Regions from separate parts of the Homo sapiens genome. Here region 1 is linked to region 2. The links are contacts of gene promoters, found by promoter capture Hi-C in blood cells and fetal thymus (Javierre and others, 2016). All regions are on one chromosome and are shown on one strand. The core of a region is centred on a gene start or on the middle of the fragment in contact, and the rest is flanking DNA. Distances in the headings are between cores, read along the strand shown. Region 1 holds the start of TH2LCRR (T helper type 2 locus control region associated RNA). Region 2 overlaps SOWAHA (sosondowah ankyrin repeat domain family member A).

Region 1 (5,140 bases), core at 1,246-3,745, 160 kb after region 2:
CTCTGTTCAGGAATGGCTGAGTAGGAGCTGGCAGTGGCAGACAAGGCCAGGCCAGGAGAGCAGGTAGTCCCTGGGGAGTCTGCCAGACACCTCCATAGGTCCATCCACAGTGCTGAGCCCCCCAGCCCAGCTCCTCTCTCCCTCATGGCTGGGCCGGGCCTTGGTCCATGGAGATTTTTCCTGACCTACAGGCATCTTAGGACCAGGCCCAGCCTGCTCATGACCTCATCTTGGGAATCACCCACCCTGGAGCCCTCATAGCTAGGACCCTGGCTAGCCGACACTCACCTTCTGGTTCTGGGTGATGTTGACCAGCTCCTCAATGAGCTCCCTGAGGGCTGTAGAGGGAGGCACAGGGCCTGGGGAGGCAAAGCCGCCAAGGCAAGTGAGAGCAATGACCGTGGTCAACAAAAGCGCCATGAGGCCCAGTGCCAACAGGAGAGGATTGAGGAGCGGATGCATAGGCTGGGTGGCTTGTGGCCTTGGCGTCTTGTGGCAGCTTTTATAGGCCCAAGTGGTGACGCCTGACACCATGGTCTCTGCTTTTTCAGGCACTATCTAGAAACCACATCTTTACTCATCTTGATTTTACTTTGTGGAAAATCCAGTGTCGCATAAAGGAAAGAGTTTGATTTCTCATGGACTTATTGAGAAGGGTCCAGGGCAGAGTTTCCAAGATCTGGGTGGGTTTAATTCCAGCGGCAGGCAAGGGGCCCTGAGAGCGGCGTGGCATTTGCAATGCTGCCCTGAGTTCCAGCAGTTTTGCCTGTGACAACCCTGAGTACCTGGACAGCTGACCCAACTCTGAGCTCCTGTCCTCAGACCCTTTTGGGTCACCAGAAGTGCTGAGCAGATAGTCTTAGTGCACTGTGGCTGTGACCACAGTCTACCAGCTATGGGAATTTGGGGAGTTTTATTTTTTCGATGAACCAGTCTCTTAAATTACTTAAGTAACACTTGCTTGGATACAAAATTCAAACAGGCAATAGAAGAGTAAAGTTCACTTCTTTTGGCTTGCCTAATTCCTCCTTGGCCCCACTGTGAGAGGGATTGTCAAAGTTCAGATTTCCAGGTCTCCACTGAGAGATCCAGAAAGATTCAGAGGTCTTTCTGGGAGCTTTTTTGGTGTTTTTTTGTTTTGTTTTGTTTTGTTTTTTTGGAGATGGGGTCTCACTATGTTGCCTGCCTAGGCTGGCCTCCAACTCCCAGACTCAAGCGATCCCCCCACCTCAGCTTCCAGAGTGGCTGGAAGTAGTGTGCACGTGTCTGGCCCCTTTAATTTAAAGTGTATGGGCCATCCTTCTGGGAAACTCTTAACTGGGCCAGGCTGGCAGCCTTAGTCCAGGTCAGAGATTGTAAGTGTTCCTAGTGCCACTGGGGCTTGGGGTGATCCCCTTTGCTCACCAGTCTCTGCAGGATCAACCCCTGCCGTCTGGGGGCCTCAAATTTCCCTTCTGCAGAATGAGTGCTGTGGAGGGCGGCTCCTGGGCTTGGCCCCTGCAGCCATGTCGCCTTTTCCTGCTCTTCCCTCGTTTTCCTAGAAGTCCTCCAGAAACCCCCACAGCAGAGGCCACGGCATTTGCCTGTTGGGTGTTGATGTCAAGATTTCTCCCCTACCCACTTCCTCCCCGAACCAGCGCCTCCCCAGGCCCCCTCTCTGCCTGCTCAGGCTCCCTCCGTCCTGTCCTCGATGGGGCTCAACCTCCTCACAAGGGTGTGCTTGTGACCCTCCTCACAAGGCATGCTGGATTCCCGCTCAGAGGCATCCCAGGCTTGCCCACCCTCTCTTCCCACAGGGAACGTCATTCCCACCCTCTCTGTCCACACTCGAAGCTTCCCAGCCCAGCTGCTGGCTCTGACTCCCAGAAGTCTGCCCCTTCCCCTCGAGGGCCCCCAGTGCCTGGAGTGCCGCTACTTGGCCGTGTGACCCCTCTACGGGCCTGTTTCCTAATCTGTAGTAGAGGGCCCACGGCATCTCCCACAGGGTCTCCGTGATGGGGGAAGGAGCGGGGAACTACCTTGGTCTGTGCAACTCCCGGAGCCCCGCCCGGGTGAGTCAACGCCCCTTATCCCCCATGGCCACCAAAAGCCCTGCCGGGAGCGGTGGGCAGGGGCGCCCCCGCGCGTGGGAGAAGGCGCTGGCGCGGCGGTTGCGGCGGCGATGGCCCGCGGAGATAGGGGGGTGGCCTTATGTAACGGGAGATGGGCCCGATAAGCGGGATCTGCGCGGCCGGGCCCTCCTCCGCGGCCTCCGGCGGTGGCCGGTCCGGGAGGCAGGGGTGGGCGCGCAGACCGGCCAGTCTGGAAGCTGCGGAGGCTGGCGAGGGGGCGGCAAAGGTGGCGGTCCGAGCGCCAGGCAGGGCAAGGGCCGGCTGGACACCCGGGCCAGCGGCTCCCCGAGCGCCGGTGCGCACCGGCGAGGGGCGGGAGCGGCCGAGGGGCCGAGGCGCGCACGTGCCGCTCCAGCACCGGCCATGTCAGGCCGAGGGACCCCGCGGGCCCGGCCGAGCGGCAGCCCCTGCCCTGGAGGGTGGTCTCCAGGGACCAAGGCGTGGCGGGCGGTGCGGAGAGGCGCGGCACAGATGGCTACATCAGAGGGTCTGTTGCTTGTTTCTAGATTGTCAGCGGGGATCCACTCCCGTGCGGGTAATTTTAATTAACACTAACTACCAAAGGGCCGCTCCGGGCACTTGGCGCATGTGGCTCGCACCTGCCTGCAATGCGCTGCGTGGGCCGCCCGCTTATGGCCATGGGGAGCCTCTTCGCTTTGCTCTGGCCCCGAAGCGCTGGGATTGGGACCTCCCTTCCTCCCGACCAGCTCATCCTGGGAAAGCTGGGGTTGCTTTTTCGGGTTTCTCTGGACTCTGGGTCTCCGTTGGCAAAGACATGATGCCCAGTCAGGAGGAGTAAGGCCTGAGAGAGTTGTTTTTGTAAGTGAAAGGATTTAATTTTTTAGATTTTTATTTTTAGGAAAGTTACGAATGCAGATAATTTTAAAAATCAAGAAGGCTGATTATGTAAAACGGCAGCGCTGGGAATCCGTGCTCTATGGGCCTCTGGCATTGCTGCTCCTCTTGTGAGTGAGGCACTTACTGCCCTGCTGTGTCCCTTACTGTCTTTTAAAGGTTGTTTATAGGCCGGGCGCGGTGGCTCACGCCTGTAATCCCAGCACTTTGGGAGGCCGAGATGGGCGGATCACGAGGTCAGGAGATTGAGACCATCCTGGCTAACACGGTGAAACCCCGTCTCTACTAAAAATACAAAAAAATTAGCCGGGCGTGGTGGTGGGCGCCTGTAGTCCCAGCTACCCAGGAGGCTGAGGCAGGAGAATGGCGTGAACCCGGGAGGCGGAGCTTGCAGTGAGCCGAAATCGCGCCACTGCACTTAAGCCTGGGCGACAGTGTGAGACTCCGTCTTAAAAAAAAAAAAAAAAAAAAAAAAAGGTTGTTAAGAAAATCACAAGGAAGGAGGAAAAAATATATTTCCTATTCATTAAGTGGAGGTGGAACATCACAAAGGTCTTCAGCGTCACTGTCTTCACGTTGAGCAGGCCGAGGAGGAAGAAGAGGAGGGGTCGGTCTTGTCATCTCAGGGGTGGCAGAGGCAGGAGAGAATCCGTGGATAAGTGGATCTGTGCAGTTCAGAACCTGCTGTTCAAGGGTCAACTGTGTATGTAAAAAATTCAGTGGAATCTCCACCTTCCCTCACAAGTAACTATTTTTCTTAGGTGTTGTTTTTTTTTTTTTTTGGTATCCTATTAGTTTATGTAAATACAAGCAACTGTGAATATATGGTCTTATTTTCCCTTGTCCCTACATGTGAAGTGGCATCATATACACCTTTTGCACCCTGTTTTTCTCACTTACTATAAAAATAATATATTTTTGTATTCACACTTAGATTGGGACATTTTATGACTTTTCTTCTTTGTTCTCTCTTATTGGAACTGCCATTTTTTTTGACTATATACCTCTTGGACTTGTCCTTTAATTTTCTTTTTATTCTATTTTCCATTTAAAAAATTTCTCTTCTCTGGGATATTCTCATAGCTTTATCTTCCTGAGGGTATTTGATTCTTTGTGTGTGTGTGCGCATGTGCACATGCACGCTAACAGCACTATGTTCTTGTTTCATTGATATCTTCTAAGTTTCCTTTTTCATACATAATCTTTATTTTCTGCAAGTTTTCTTTAAAAAATTGTTTTGAACTGGGCGCGGTGGCTCACCCCTGTAATTCCAGCACTTTGGGGGGCCGATCGCTTGAGCCCAGGAGTTTGACACCAGCCTGGGAAACATAGGGAGACTTTACTTCTACAAAACATAAAAAAAACTTAGCCAGGCATGGTTGTGCATACCTGTGATCCCAGCTACTTGGGAGGCTGTGTGGGAGCATCACTTGAGCTCAGGAGTCGAAGCTGCAGTGAGTTGTGATCACACCACTTCACTCCAGCCTGGGTGACAGAGCCAGACCCTGCCTCAAAAAAAATTTTTTTTCCATCTTATAGGCTTTCCTTGCACGTTAGGTAATCCTGGATTGCCTGCACATGTTAAAACAGGGATCTCTGAGGGTAATTGTGTGGGAGGGGGCTGTTTCCTATAGGGCAGGTGGCTGACTGTTTTCACTTGGGGAACCTCCTGTGGCAGTTTCTTTGTCGTTTTTTTGGCAGGCAGGTCAGCTCGCGCAGAAAAGATTCTCCCTGTCTCCAGCATTCCAGCAGCAAGGGTGGAGAGAGGGCTGGGGTGGGGGCCTCAGCATCTGTTGACTGTTCCTGATTTCAGCATATTTCGACCGCCCTCTACTGTGTCTAGTGTTTCTTGGTCCAGATATCCTATCCGGAGAAAACCCTGCTGCAGGAGAGTCACTCGACTTTGATGAACAAAAATGGATATCTAACTGTTTCTTAAACTGAGTTTCAACAACTTTCCTTATTTTCACCCCCTTCTCTTCTGATGTCCTTGGTCTTCTCCCAGTTCCTGAGCATTCTTGGGATTCTGTAAATCAACATAGGTCTCAGCTGGCCTAGGATTCAGTTTTCTTGGGTCAGCCAAGTAGTCTGCCCACCGTCCCTCCACTTTCCACCTTTCAAACGCTGGTGCTGTCATCCATTTCTCCCATTTTGGTGGGTTTAAAACTTTAGAA
Region 2 (5,351 bases), core at 9-2,508:
CACCATTGCACTCCAGCTCAGGTGGCTGAATAGCAGTGGTTAGGTCTGGAAGGTAGGAGTAGGAATGCTAGAGGAATGTGAGTTTAGAAAGACATTATTTCTATTTTAACTAAAGTGATATCATGTACAGAATATGGGATAATTTCCCTCTTGTGGGAATACATTTTTCCTAGTAGAGTCGATTGTTACTTATGTATACAATCACCAACATGTTAAAAGAATGGTGATCATGGCAGGGCACGGTGGCTCACACCTGTAATCGCAGCACTTTGGGAGGCCAAAGCAGGCAGATCACCTAAGATCAGGAGTTTGAGACCAGCCTGACCAACATGGTGAAACCCCATCTCTACTAAAAATTCAAAAAATTAGCCAGGCATGGTGGCACGTGCCCGTGATCTCAGCTACTTGGGAGGCTGAGGCAGGAGAATCGCTTGAAGCCGGGAGGCAGAGGTTGCAGTGAACTGAGATTGCACTACTGCACTCCAGCCTGGGTGACAGAGCGAGACTCCATCTCAAAAAAGAAAAAAAAAAAAAGAAAGAATGATCATGTAAAGCAGATCCACAAATCAGAGCTATTTGGTTTTGGGATGCAGCCATTTACCCCCTGGAACCAACTCGGCACCCCACATTGGTGTTGCAGTTCATAAAGAGCTCTATCCACTCATTCTACGTGCTCTTCCTTCCCCCACAGCCTGTGAAATAGGTACAGGAAGCCTTTTGTCCCGTAGACAGGGAAGATGGAGTTTGGGGAGCTGGGTGACTTGCCCAAAGACACTAAATGAGTAAAAAGGGCTGAGATGAGCCCACCCTGCTTCCTGCAATAGGATAGCAGACAGTGTCATGAAAAAGAGAACCAGGAGACTATTCCAGCTCTGCATTTACTAGCTGTGAGGCCTAGACAAGTAACTTATGACTTCTCTAGGCTTCAGTTTCCTCACTTTAAAATCAAGATACAAATAGTACATACCTTATAAACTTGCGATTAATACCTGCAAAGTGTTTCGAATTGTGCCTGGCACTTAATCAGCACAGGTTATACAGTATATGCATTACCCTGGATCTCCATTAGGTAAGGGAGACATGCTTAAGAATAACCTCCAACCTCCATTAAAGGATATGTAAAACTTTACTTAAAAGCTTGCTATGGATACGACTCATACCCATCTACATCAACAATTCTCCCTCATTAAAAGGCGTGATTTCGTCCCTGTGACAATTCTTGTCAGCTAAATTGCCTTCACAATTATTTTCTGTTAGTGTTGAAAATACCCTTCTAACGGTGTGCCTCCTGCTAGGTGATATATGATTCTTAAAAACTTTCCCTATGCGTATGAAACTATAATTTCTTATCGGCTTACCTTATAGTTGCAGAAAGCTTTGGCCTGCAAGGAAAAGCAGTGTTTTCTAACACCTGAGCTTTAGGTATATTGATCCTAAACTCTTGCTAAATGTTTTACTTCACTTGGAAGGCTTGCAGCACACTCTTCTGAAACACATAGATTCTTCTGGCAGTTCAAATGACCCTCCTCTGATTTAAGTGTGCAATAAACATTAGTTATTGTTATTACTACTTTGCTGGTTTAAACGTTGTCTTTATCAAGGCAGGTCATACCTGTGTCTGTGACCTTTGTCTGAGGCCCTGTCTGAGTCAGGTGTCTCTTTTACCATGGAAAATCTCTAGTATTTTATTCTGTTTTCTAGACTGTCAGCTACTCCAATTGCTATAATTGTGTCTCCTACAATTTTTCAGCAGAGGCAGAAGATTTAATTTGCATTTTAAAATAATTTATGCAGAGTTCCAGGCAAGGAAGGTGGGAAGGTCACATCAGGGCCCACATTTATCTACAGTTCTCCATTACGATATCCATGTGTGGTTGACTCCTTTACTTTGCAGAGCAATCCAACTTCTTTCAATAACAGAATGCTTGAAAGAGGCAGAAGAATGAAGGAAATTAGATAAAAAGAAAAGAAAAATACAATAGCAAAAACTGTACAATTTTTAAGGGAAGTACATCACCACTCAAGCAGAAACAAAATGGAGGACTGTTTATTTCATTGCTCAATCAAAACATTCCATGAAAGACTGCCTTAAGTAATTTCAAAGGCTTCACTGATACATATGGGGGTGGGGAGGGAAGCTCCACTACCCCATGCCACAAAACTATTTGATATAACTAATGACATGCAAACACAATTTGCAAAAGCAGAGCATTATCACAATATGACATTTAAAAAATTGGTTGAGTAAACAGATTTCATATCTTTAAAACATAAAATAATTACACTGTATTGAGCCTGGGAAATCTTGGCAATATCTACAAACTTTCTCATTTACAGATAGGAACAAAGGCCCAGAGAAGTTAAGCCACTCATCCAAGCTCACTGAGCAGAGATTCTGCATTTGCTATTTTGGAATAAGTTGTCTACTTTCAAATGGTTTTTTAAAATGGGTATTACATACTTTTTGTTTGTACAGAACAGTCATATAAAATAGTTGCTCCTTAATTGTATCCATTACTATTTAATCGCTCATTTTTCTGTAATACTATTACTTTTTTAATAGTCACCTATTTCACTGAAAGGCTCCACTGGATTTGAAAACCAGATTCAGAAACATGGCACAAAGGTGCAATTCACAAACCACAATTTTTTTAAAAAATTAAGTAGTCATGCCAAATCAAAATAGCCACCCACAAGTGCCAAACACGTTTCTATTTCATGATGGAGACAACCACAAATTAAAAGTATCTGTCAAAATGTCTCTTTTCTCTAAGTCACCTTTACTTTCAAGATGTACTTGTTTGCAAATATTTAGCATTCACAGTACAACTGAAATTAGTTACATTCATAATGGTCACAATCGTTATTCTGTGTTCAAGACTCTCCAGAATCTTGATTGCCTAAAACGAGGTAGATAAACTTTTAAGTTTGTTGGTTGGGATTAATTTCCTTTAGATCTTGATCATCTATTTTTTAAATAGAATTCCAAAGTATTTAGCAAAAAAAAAATTGAAAATGTCTAAGCACTTTGCCTAAAAGTGGAAAAATATAATTCCAAAAGGTTATTACGAAAGTTGCATTACCTCATTTCAATTTAAAAACAGAATAAAAGCATCAAATTACAAAACCACCACATATCTTAAAGCTGACAACCTAACATCTTTCAACATTTAAAGAGACCCTTGCTCTAGCTCTGTCTTGGGATTGTGTAGCTGCAGAGGCATCAGGTGAAGGCTTTCAGGGGCCAGACCAGCTGCTGCCCCTTAACCTTTGACCCTGGATTTCAAGTTCCCTCTAGAGTTCAGGCCTGTCTCCTGGAGTTCTTTATAGGAAGCTCTCACTGATTTCTCAAATCCCATCTCTGGAGATGGGTCATGCTTCAGAAAGAAGCTGGAGGTGCAGGCCCATCTGGGTAAAACAGGCTGCCCTGGACAAAGCTGGAAACAGAATGAGGCTCCAGGCGTTGATTGGGCTGCAGTCTTGGGCGGGTTTGGACTGCGACGAGCAGGCCACGATAGATCAACCAGGTGGTAGCCCCAGGGACCTTCAGGTTGTTGGAGGCAAACTGGGCACTAGACCAGCTAAAGGCCCCGGAGTAGGTCGACGAGAGATTTCTGAGAAGGCTGGCAGACCACCGCGGATCTTTGTCTTTTTACGTGGAGCCATGGGCGAGGCGCTCAAGAACTTGCTGAAGGAGCTCGACTTCTTCAAGCCTCGGGCCAGGTCCTGGAGCATGAGGTCGTCAGCCAGGACGCCCAGAAATGCACTGGTGGTGGAACTGAGGATGGTGGCGGCCACCTGTACGGGGCGCCTGGCAGCAAGACTGCCACTTCCACCACCGGTCGCATCTGGCTCCGTGGTGCCTCGCAGGCCTGGATCGCCAAGAAGGCGGCGCAGCGCGTACGAGGAGCCGGGCCGCAGGTACTGGTAGGCGCGACGCCCGCTGTGATCACGCACGTGCACCTGGGCACCCAGACGCACCACCAGCAGCACGGCAGCGTCCTCGTGGCCGTGCAGTGCAGCCAGGTGCAGCGGCGTGTAGCCGCCGTGGGAGCGTGCGTTCACGTCGACTGGTGCGCCACTGCGCCGCGCGACCTCCACCAGCTGCAGCGCCATCTCGCCGTCGCCGCTCTTGGCGGCCCAATGCAGGGCCGTGAAGCCAGACATGAAGTCGCGCTTGGCCGCCAAGCCGCGGTCGCGCAGCAGCAGCCCGTGCAGCTGGTGGGTCCAGCGGCCCCCGGCAGTCCGCACGAGCCACTCGTGCTCGGACGGCTCCAGGGGCACCGCGGACGGCGGCGGCGCGGCGGGCAACTCCTCGGCGTCAGGGCTCAGCAGACGCGGGCCGGCGCGCGACAGGCGCCTCAGGTGCGGGGAGCGGCCCGGGCCCAGGCCGAGGCCCAGACCGGACTCTTCCACCGAGAGCCGCCTCAGCAGCAGAGGGGAGCTCCGCGGGCTCGGCTCCTCCGACAGCTGCCGGCGCAGGCCGGGCTCCTCCGCCCGGAGGCGGAGCGTGGCGGGGGCCGGGACGCAGCGCACCGGCAGCATACAGGGCTTCTGCTGCGGCGGCCCTTTCGCTGCCCCGGGCCCGGGCTCCGCGTCTGGCGGATCAGAGCAGGGCGATGCCGCCTCAGAAGGGGCCCTAGGCGGTGGGGCCGCGTCTGCGGAGGGTCTCTCGGTGGCCTGGGCTAGCTCAAGGGCTGGAAGCGGTGGGTCGGCGGACCGCTCCCCGGGCGGCTGAGCGGGCTCGGAGGCCGGCCCCCCCGGGGTGTCCTGTGGCTCTGTTGGCAGACCCAGGTCCCCTGGCGGCTCCACTGGCCGCGGCACCCGGACCAAGGGCGGAGCTCCCGGGGCAGAGGCGCTCCGCGGCAAGACCGTCGAAGTGGGTTTCGACGGCTGGGCCGCTGCCCCCGGGGGGCCGAAGGGTGCGGGCTCGGGCTCCGGGGGCCGGGGCTTCTTCCTCAGCACCACGAACTTGACGCCGTCGAGCTCCTTCACCACCGCCACGTTGTTGACGAACTGCTTGAAGCGGTCCCTGCGGGCGGCGCGGCCCCGCGGGTCGCCGGCATCGAGCAGCGGCTTGAAGCGGCTCAGCAGCTCGGAGTTGCGCACCTTCCCGCCGTGCTCCTGCAGGAAGCCCAGCACCGCCGCCTGGCTCACCCCGGCAGCCGCAGCGGCGGCGGCGGCGGCCAGCGCCATGGTGGGGCCCTGGGTTCCTGGCTCCCGGGGCGGGTGGGCGCCGCGTCGCCGCGGGACGCGCGGGAGCGGGGTTCCGGGAGGCGCGGCCGCGCTCACCTGGTGCCTTCCCCGCGGCCAGCCGGGCGTGTCCCCGAAGCTGGACCTCGGTCGCGCCA

The links. Contacts are between HindIII fragments. The CHiCAGO score rates a contact against its expected background, and 5 or more counts as called.
Region 1: a contact is called between the fragment with the promoter of TH2LCRR here and a fragment that was not itself captured in region 2, in 2 of 17 cell types (M1 macrophages and endothelial precursors). The highest score is 5.5, in M1 macrophages.

The regions. Positions count from the first base shown.
Region 1 is chr5:132,653,509-132,658,648 of GRCh38, reverse strand. It overlaps TH2LCRR (T helper type 2 locus control region associated RNA), which reads left to right and starts at 2,495. Exons shown (of 3, transcript NR_132125.1): 1 at 2,495-2,598. It overlaps IL13 (interleukin 13), which reads right to left and starts at 476. Exons shown (of 4, transcript NM_002188.3): 1 at 289-476. The coding sequence starts at 462. RefSeq lists silencers at 1,692-1,751, 1,832-1,921, 1,982-2,271. The HindIII fragment of the contact is 15,561 bases long and covers 1,836-5,140 here.
Region 2 is chr5:132,813,467-132,818,817 of GRCh38, reverse strand. SOWAHA (sosondowah ankyrin repeat domain family member A) reads right to left here. Exons shown (of 1, transcript NM_175873.6): 1 at 2,032-5,351. The coding sequence starts at 5,196. The coding sequence ends at 3,547. Among named protein-coding and RNA genes, the nearest start is that of SOWAHA, 2.8 kb to the right of the region's middle. RefSeq lists enhancers at 3,371-3,871, 3,872-4,372 and a silencer at 4,412-4,481. The HindIII fragment of the contact is 238 bases long and covers 1,140-1,377 here.